Regions from separate parts of the Homo sapiens genome. Here region 2 is linked to region 1. Evidence: promoter capture Hi-C in human tissues and cell types (Jung and others, 2019). All regions are on one chromosome and are shown on one strand. Each heading gives the region's core, a stretch centred on a gene start or on the middle of the fragment in contact. The rest is flanking DNA. Distances are from core to core; before and after follow the strand shown. Region 1 holds the start of ONECUT3 (one cut homeobox 3). Region 2 holds the start of ADAMTSL5 (ADAMTS like 5).

Region 1 (4,314 bases), core at 236-2,735:
CTCACCTCCGGCTCCCAGCTGGGCAGGCTGGAGGGCACCCCCTCCCACACCAGAGAAGGGGAAACTGAGGCACAGAAAGGGCCCTATTCCAGAGCCAACCTAGTCTTGGTTCAGAAAATCGCATCTCCAATGTGTAGCCACGTCTACAGGGGCCAGGAAATCTGGATGCAGGTGCAAAGCTGGGGCCGGGGTTTGCCCAGAAGGTTTGCACCAAAGGGGAAGTGACAGCCTGACTGTGTCCTCCCCTCTTCCTTCAGCTTTGAGCCCTGATGCAACCCTCTGAGATGGGGGTAACTGGGGGCTCCCGCGAACCGACTGCCTGACCCATCCCCTTCCTCTTCTAGAAAGTGCACAAGCGTTACCCCGGGGGTGGGGGGGGCAGAGGCAACGGGGAAGCAGGAAGGGGCTGAGGCTGGTTTTGGACTCTGCACCGTAGCCTCTGGCCTACAAGACAGAGCATCCTCTAGATTCTGGTCTGGCCCCTCCAGATCCGCAGCCCTGACCTTACCCCACTGGCGGGATCTAGTCCCCTGGGGGTCTCTCTGATTATAGGAGCCCTTCCCCCATCTATCCCAGTTCCCAGGGGCCCCTGGGGCTCACCTGTCTCCAGGTGCTGAGAAAAAGGAGACCCCTGCCTCCCCCCACATTGAAGAGAAGCCCCAGGGACAAAGAGGAGTTTGCACCAGCGACGTCTCAGAAGACAGGGGATCCAGCCTCAGCCTCCGTGGGCTGGAGGGTGACAGGGGCTCTTAGTGGTCACCCCCAGGCTCCAGTGCCTCCAGCGGCCGCACTGTAAAAAGGCCCTGCAATTAGAAGGGGCCTTTGGCAACCCCGAGGCCGGGCAGCCCATTGTACAGTTGGGGAAACGGAGGCCCAGGTGCCCACACATGGGCAGAGGCTGACCCCTGGGGCGCACGGAGGCCCTGACCTAGCCTTAGGACCTCCCTTTTCCCCCACTTCCTCCACAAAGAGGTTGTGGGAAGGGGGCTGTGACTCCGTAGGTGTGAGTGGGAGTCGGGGGAAGCTGAGCTTGCAGTGGGGATCTAGCTCCTGGGGGTCTGTAGGGAACGGGGGGGGGGGGGGACACGTACATTACAGGCGACCGTCCAGCCACACTCCCAGAAACTCCCTGGAGATGGACTTGGGGGTGCCAGGCAGAAAGCCACATCTGGGACTCTGGAGAGAATCACACAGAGACGCGAAATCGGAGACTCTGGGTCGAGGCCCCCAGCCCCACCTGGGCAGAGTCTGTCCTCGGACCCCCGCCCGCTGTCCCCCGGGTACGGCCTGCCCCAGCGGGCGCGGGCGGGCGCAGTGGCCAGGGACGCCGAAGCCCCAAGTCTGGCCGACTTCGGCCTGCTTGGTGCTCGAGTGGGGCCGGGGCGGGCGGAGAGCGAGGCTGCGGGAGGCAGCGGTGGCAGGAGCGGGTGGGCGGGGGCGCTGACGTCAGACCCGGGCCCGGGCGCCGGCGGCCGCTCCCCTGCCACATCCTGGTGGCCGCGCTCGCAGCCGGGCCGGGCCGTGCGCCGCGCAGCCTGGCAGCCTCGCGCGCAGCCACCGGGGAGCGGGCGGGAGTCATGCAGCGGCCTTGAGCACTAGGGGCCGGCGCTGAGGAGCGCGCGCGGCGGGAGGGCAGCCGAGCATGGAGCTGAGCCTGGAGAGCCTGGGGGGCCTGCACAGCGTGGCCCACGCGCAGGCGGGCGAGCTGCTGAGCCCGGGCCACGCGCGCTCGGCGGCGGCGCAGCACCGCGGCCTGGTGGCGCCCGGGCGCCCGGGCCTGGTGGCCGGCATGGCGAGCCTGCTGGACGGCGGCGGCGGCGGCGGCGGTGGGGGCGCCGGGGGCGCGGGCGGCGCGGGCAGCGCGGGCGGCGGCGCGGACTTCCGCGGGGAACTGGCGGGCCCGCTGCACCCGGCAATGGGCATGGCCTGCGAGGCGCCGGGCCTGGGCGGCACCTACACGACGCTCACGCCCCTGCAGCACCTGCCGCCGCTCGCGGCCGTGGCCGACAAGTTCCACCAGCACGCGGCGGCCGCGGCCGTGGCCGGGGCGCACGGCGGCCATCCCCACGCGCACCCGCACCCGGCGGCCGCGCCGCCCCCGCCACCCCCGCCGCAGCGTCTGGCGGCCAGCGTGAGCGGCAGCTTCACCCTCATGCGCGACGAGCGGGCGGCGCTCGCCTCCGTGGGCCACCTCTACGGACCCTACGGCAAGGAGCTGCCCGCCATGGGGTCGCCGCTGTCGCCGCTGCCCAACGCGCTGCCGCCCGCGCTGCACGGCGCCCCGCAGCCCCCGCCGCCGCCACCACCCCCGCCGCTGGCCGCCTACGGCCCGCCAGGCCACCTGGCTGGGGACAAGCTGCTGCCGCCCGCCGCCTTCGAGCCGCACGCCGCGCTGCTGGGACGCGCGGAGGACGCACTGGCCCGCGGGCTGCCCGGAGGCGGCGGCGGCACAGGCAGCGGCGGAGCGGGCAGCGGGAGCGCCGCGGGGCTGCTGGCGCCGCTGGGCGGGCTGGCGGCGGCCGGGGCGCACGGGCCGCACGGGGGAGGCGGCGGCCCCGGCGGGAGCGGCGGCGGCCCCAGCGCGGGCGCAGCGGCCGAGGAGATCAACACCAAGGAGGTGGCGCAGCGCATCACGGCGGAGCTGAAGCGCTACAGCATCCCGCAGGCAATCTTCGCGCAGCGGATCCTGTGTCGCTCTCAGGGCACGCTCTCCGACCTGCTGCGCAACCCCAAGCCGTGGAGCAAGCTCAAATCCGGCCGCGAGACCTTCCGCAGGATGTGGAAGTGGCTGCAGGAGCCAGAGTTCCAGCGCATGTCGGCGCTGCGCTTGGCAGGTAGGAGCGTGGCGCGCAGGGCCAGACCCTGGGGGCGCCGGCTCTGGACTCCCGAGCACCTAGCGGGGCGGCGGCCGATGCCCGGGGCCAGCGCCCCAAGCCCCGCCCGTGCGCCCCGGCAGCCCGGGACCCCCTATCAGGAAGCTAGACCGCGATCCGCGCCGCTGCCCGTTTGTACCGTTGCCAAAAGGGAGAAAGGGATTGTGCCGCCTCCCCGCCCCCCGGTCGCCGCTTCTGCCCCTTTCGGGAGCGCGTAGGGGTTCTCTAGTCCTTGTTAGACTGCTGGGAGGCTCCGAGCCTCTCCCCAAGCAGCCCTCAGGGAAGCTCATTGTGTGTGTGCGTGTGTGTGTGTGAGCGCGCGCCTGTTGGGGGGAGCTGTGTCCCCGAACGAGCTGCTGTTGTCGGCTAAGGTGCCACTCCCCTCCTCCAGAGTGGGTGGAGAGGGGCTGTTGAGCCCCCAGCCCCGGGCCACAGAGCTCCGAGACGTTGCGGCGGGCGCCTGCAGCTCAGCAGCAGAGGCCGAGCCCGCGCTCATCCCCCCACCTGCCCCAGCGCGCGCTTCTTTGTAGTTCGGCCCCGCGATCGATACCCCCTCCCTCTCCCCTCCGGCCGCTGGCAAAGGTCACCCGAGAATGGCGGGGGAGGGGCGGCCCCGGGGACCCTCGGCCCGCGCCGCCCGGAGGCCTTCACACCCCGACCCGGCGCCCGCCCCGCGCAGTTTGGTCGTGGCTCGGGTGCGCGCGCCCCTGCCCGCCTGGCTTTGGGGTTTTGTGTCTCTCATGTCCACTTCTCTCCTCTCTCGGTCGGAACACACTGGTATCTCTATGTTTTTCTCTTGCTCTCCGTTTTGCTCTTGTTCCTGCTCATTATCTCTTCTCCCTGTCGGTCTCTCCGCCTCTGTCTCTGTCTCATACTCAGCCACCGGCCCCCTGGGGACCCTCCTCCCTCCTCCCTCCCAGCTGACAACAGCTAAGTCCACACCTGCCCTCTGACAGGCAGCCCGGCCAGGCCCCCATTTCCTAGGTGGGGGTGTAAGGGTGCAGGAGGGCCCCTGGCCTAGGTGGGGGTTTCTTTCCCTGGTGGTGCTGGGGAGGGGGCTGTCCACCCGGGCCACAGGGACAATAGCCGCGGCGGCTGGCGCCTGATCGATCGCTTCTCCGAGCACAAGGGCGAGAAAGGCGGGGGCTCTGGGAGGCGCCCCACTAGCAAAGAGGCAGAGGGGCTTGCGGCTGTGCCCCCAGGCAGCCCGTCCAGGCAGGGGGGCTGGGCGAAGAGAGGACAGCGGGGTGTCCTGTGCTGTTCCTCCCTAGAAAGCCATTCCCTCCCTCCACCCCAGGAGGACCAGACAACCCCCTGGGAGCCTGGACCCACAGGCCGGCCTCAGTTTCCCCCTTCTGCAGAGCAAGCAAGGTGACTAGCTGGAACCTCTTATGGGATTCTTAGATTTTTCTGCTTTGGGGCACGGGAAAATAAATAGTCT
Region 2 (4,247 bases), core at 94-2,593, 240 kb before region 1:
CCCATCTGTGCAGTGGGGGCCAAGTGGACTCAGTCCATGATTCTGTGACACCCTGCGGAAGGTGCGGCCGGCAGGGGCTGGATCAGGAGTTGGGTCCCTAGAAGAGGCCCTCAGCTGCACCCCGGCCCCAGGGCTCCCTCAGCTCCCAGACAGCAGGGAGTCCCCCGGATTGGGGATGGGACAGGGAGGGGGTGACCTGGCCCAGGTCCGTTCGGTGCCTCATGGCCTCATCGGCGGAGGGGGTGGGACTGAGCTCCGGGGCAGCCCGTGGAGGGAAGGGGCCACTGCTGAGGCTGGAGCAGGGAAGGGGAGGAGGCTGACTGCCTCTCTGGGCCTTAGTTTCTCCATCCTGTCAGGGCAGGGATGAAGTCACTTGCCATCCACACCCTCCTCATGACCCCAGCCTGCAGGGGGAAAGAGGGGGGAAGGGAAGCAGCCGCCAAGTGAGCCAGGGCGTCCTGCTGCCAGCAGAGCCTGAAGGCAGGTGGGTGAGCCCCGGCCCGGGCACCAGCTGGGGAAGAGGCTGGGTCCCACCTGGACCCTGTTTCCCTGGCTCCAGCATTTGGACTTCTGAGGCACCAAGGGTCTAGGGTCCTGGGTATCTCTAGGTACTGAGACAGCTGTGTGGTCTGCTGCATCCGTGCCCCTCTCTGAGCCTAGAGCCTGGGCTGGCCCAGGAAGCAGGAAGAAGTCTGCACCAGAAACTTAAAACAAGGGGAGGGGGGCCAGGTGCGGTGGCTCACGCCTGTAATCCCAGCACTTTGGGAGGCCAAGACAGGCGGATCACCTGAGGTCAGAAGTTTGGGACCAGCCTGACCAACATGGTAAAACCCCATCTGTACTAAAACACAAAAATTAGCCCGGTGTGGTGGTGCACACCTGTAATCCCAGCTACTTGGGAGGCTAAGGCAGGAGAATCGCTTGAACCCAGGAGGCGGAGGTTGCAGTGAGCCGAGATGGGGCCAATGCACTCCAGCCTGGGCGACATAGTGAGACTCAGTCTCAAAAACAACCAACCAACCAAAAAAAACAGGGGGAGGGGGCTTGACCTTCTGACCACCCCCACCGGACTCTAAGCCTGGTTTGAGGAGTGGGGGTCTAGGTGGTGAAAAGTGGGGGGCTACAAGGACCACCCTACCCCCTCCTCAATGGGCCCTGCCCAGAATCAAGGCTCTCCCCTCCCCGTGTGGGCTGCAGCCCGGACTGGCGGAGGGATCTCAAGGCAAGCCGCACCTCTGGGCCTCAGTTTCCCCCGGAGAAAGTGGGAGGATAGGCAGATGGACTTACCGGCTGCGCGGAGCCCAGGCAGCGCGTCCCGGCTCCCTGAGCGGCCCCAGGGCGAGCGGAAGCGGCGGGGCCCAAGGTGCTGGGCGGGGTGGGGAGCCTGGGACGGTCCCTCCCACCGCGGCCTCCGCAGGCGCGCCCAGGCCCGGGTCAGGAGGGGCGGCGGCCCCGGGCGCCCTCGCGCGGCGGGCGCGGATCTGCGGCAGGGGACTGCCCGGCGGACGCGAGCGCAGGGGTCCCGGAGCCGCAGGCTGGTGTCGGGCGCCCGGGTCCGGGTGACCTTGGCAGGCTCGGGCGGGGGCGCGGCGCGGGGACTGACCGCCCTCCTCTGCCCCGGGGCTGCTATTCCGGGCGCCGCGCTCAGGGCCCGGGAATGTGCGCGAACCGAGGTCACCCCGCCCTGGGTCTGGGAGTCCCGGGCGCTGCCCCTACCCCGCCGACGCCCGGATTGCGTCCCACCGGCGTCCCCATCCCCGGTCACAGCCCCCTCCCCTGGTCCTGCCCCTCACCCCTCTCGCGGGGGGTCGACCTGCTCGTGGATGGGGACCCTGGCGCGCCTGGGCTCCCATCCGGGGGTTCCCCGACCCAGGTCCCGGTCACCCCCAGCGCAGGGCCCCAGCGCACTGGGGAGAGGCTCGGCCCCGTGGGCCGCGCGCGGGGGGCGGAGAGACCCTCCCAGCTGGCGCATTCCCGGGCGCTGCTGTCACCAGGGGACGCGCCCCACCCCGCCTCCCGCCCTCCCTGCCGGGCCCCGGGGCTGCCAGCGGGGCTTCAGAGCCAGACCCGGGTCCAGGCGGTCCCTCTCCCTCACAGCCGCGGCCACACCCTCTCCGGCCTCAGTTTCCCCATCCCAGCAGTGGGCCCGGCAGGGATCTCCACCGCGAACCTTCCATCTGGAATCCGGCTCTGCGCGGACCGGCAACGCGAGGGGGCACCCCGGGACTCCCCCCACCCCACCCTTTCCCGCCGGGCGTCTGTGAGCCGCCCCGTGCCCACCCACGCAGGGATGAGACCAGGCCCTGGGTTCTGGGCTCCACCAGTTTCTGGTGTCGCCCCACGGCGCCCCCTGGCGGGCGGGCTGAGGGACTGGGGCACTAAAGGAGGGGGTGGAGGGACTGTCCTGCTCCCTGGGCTCCACCCAGGCTCGGTCTGAGCACCCCCTCCTCCAGGAAGCCCACCCTGCTGTCCCACAGCGCTGACCACAGGGAGAGAGGTTTGCTGGGGACATACAGGGTGTTGCTGGTCCAACTCAGTCTGCCCTCCAGCCTGTAGCATGTCAGCAGAGCCACCCATATGCCATTTATTGAGCACCTACTGTGTGCACAGCTGTGAACAACCCAGCCAGTCCCAGGCCAGCGGGTAAGGCAGCCCCCTGGAATGTATGACCCCCCACCTTCTGACCTGGACTATTGGAGAAAATAGCCCAGGCCCACCACTGATGGCCCCAGGTTGGGGGGTGGTGGTTGCGGGGATGTCAAGAAGGCCCTCACTGAAGGGGTCAAGAGAGAAGGGCAGGCCGGGCGCGGCGCCTCATGCCTGGAATCCCAGCACTGTGGGAGGCCGAGGCAGGCGGATCACCTGAGGTCAGGAGTTTGAAGCCAGCTTGGACAACATGGTGAAACCCAGTATCTACTAAAAATATAAAACTTAGCCAGGCATGGCGGTGAGTGCCTGTAATCCCAGCTACTCGGAAGACTGAGGCACGAGAATCGCTTAAACCCGGGAGGCAGAGGTGGCAGTGAGCCGAGATCACGCCACTGCACTCCAGCCTGGGAGACAGGCGAGACTCCGTCTCAAAAAAAAAAAAAAAAAAAAAAAAGGAAAGAAAGAAAGAAAGAAGTCAGCTCAGGACATGTGTCAATGTGTCATTAGGACAATTGTATCCTCCTCAGATGTGCCCCATTCCCAGATGTCCAGTCCACAGAGCTCCACTGGGAGTGCAGACAGCAGGCCCTGTGCCCCGCAGGGAAGGTATACAGAAAGCACAGCGCCCACAGGGAGCACACACAGCAGGCATTATGCTCTGCAGGAAGGGTATACAGCAGGTGCTGCATCTTGTAGAAATGCATAGAGTAGACTCTGCCCTGCAAAGGAGTGTATACAGTAGATATGGCACCTTCAGAGGAGTGCATACAGCAGTCACTGCATCCTGTAGAGAGTATATACAGCAGGTGCTGCATCCTGCAAGGAAGGTATACAGCAGGTGCTGCATCCTGCAAGGAAGGTATACATAAGGCGCTGTCTCCTGCAGGGAGCGCATACAGTAGGCACTGAGTTCTATGGAAAGTGTACCCCGCAGCCCCTGTTCCCTCCTGGGAGTGCATACCGCAGCCACTGCACCCTGCGTGGGGGCTCTAGAGCTGGCAAGATTGGCAGAGGTGGTGGTGAAGATGTGGAGGGCTGCCCCCCACCCCCAGTTCTTGTCCCCTACCGTCTCCCACCTCTGTCCTCTGGATGTCCCTAGGAGGAGGCTGGGAGCTCAGCCTAAGACACCCGGTGTAGGTGGAGGGGGTGGCTGCTGAGGCTCAGAGGCTCCTGGGGTCCCAGTTGGGCGGGGTCCCAGCTTACTACATTCCCCTGCCCTTGCCTGGACCCTGACCCAGGAATCAGCCGAGTCCCCCTACTCTGAATTTCAGCCTGGACCCCCTCCTTGAGGCAGCGTCAGGGCTAGAGGGGAGACTGAGACGCGGGTCCCGGCGGATGTGGATCAATTAGGTTCCATTTCCTTCATGGTTGTATGGCCTTGAGGCTTAAGGAATGCCGCGATCTGCTGTGTGACTGGGCTACAGTGAACAGTATGGTACCCCACACTTCAAACTGTGTTCACAGGGTAGATTTCATGGTAAGGGTTCTTACCATAAAAGAACAAAAACAGTGGGACACAAGGGACCTCGGGAAGTGACAGGTAGGCCTGTCATCTTGAGTGTGGTGACTGCATATGTGCAAACTCATCAAATTGCAGA

Evidence for each region. The method cuts DNA at HindIII sites, captures the fragments that hold promoters and counts their contacts. A contact is called where the count stands out against the background at its distance.
Region 2: a contact is called between the fragment with the promoter of ADAMTSL5 here and the fragment with the promoter of ONECUT3 in region 1, in 2 of the 25 tissues and cell types used here (heart right ventricle and lymphoblastoid cells).

What each region holds. Positions count from the first base shown.
Region 1 is chr19:1,752,021-1,756,334 of GRCh38, forward strand. It overlaps ONECUT3 (one cut homeobox 3), which reads left to right and starts at 1,486. Exons shown (of 2, transcript NM_001080488.2): 1 at 1,486-2,834. The coding sequence starts at 1,643. The HindIII fragment of the contact is 24,245 bases long and covers 1-4,314 here.
Region 2 is chr19:1,511,676-1,515,922 of GRCh38, forward strand. It overlaps ADAMTSL5 (ADAMTS like 5), which reads right to left and starts at 1,344. Exons shown (of 12, transcript NM_213604.3): 1 at 1,288-1,344. RefSeq lists silencers at 1,169-1,538, 2,378-2,457. The HindIII fragment of the contact is 17,964 bases long and covers 1-4,247 here.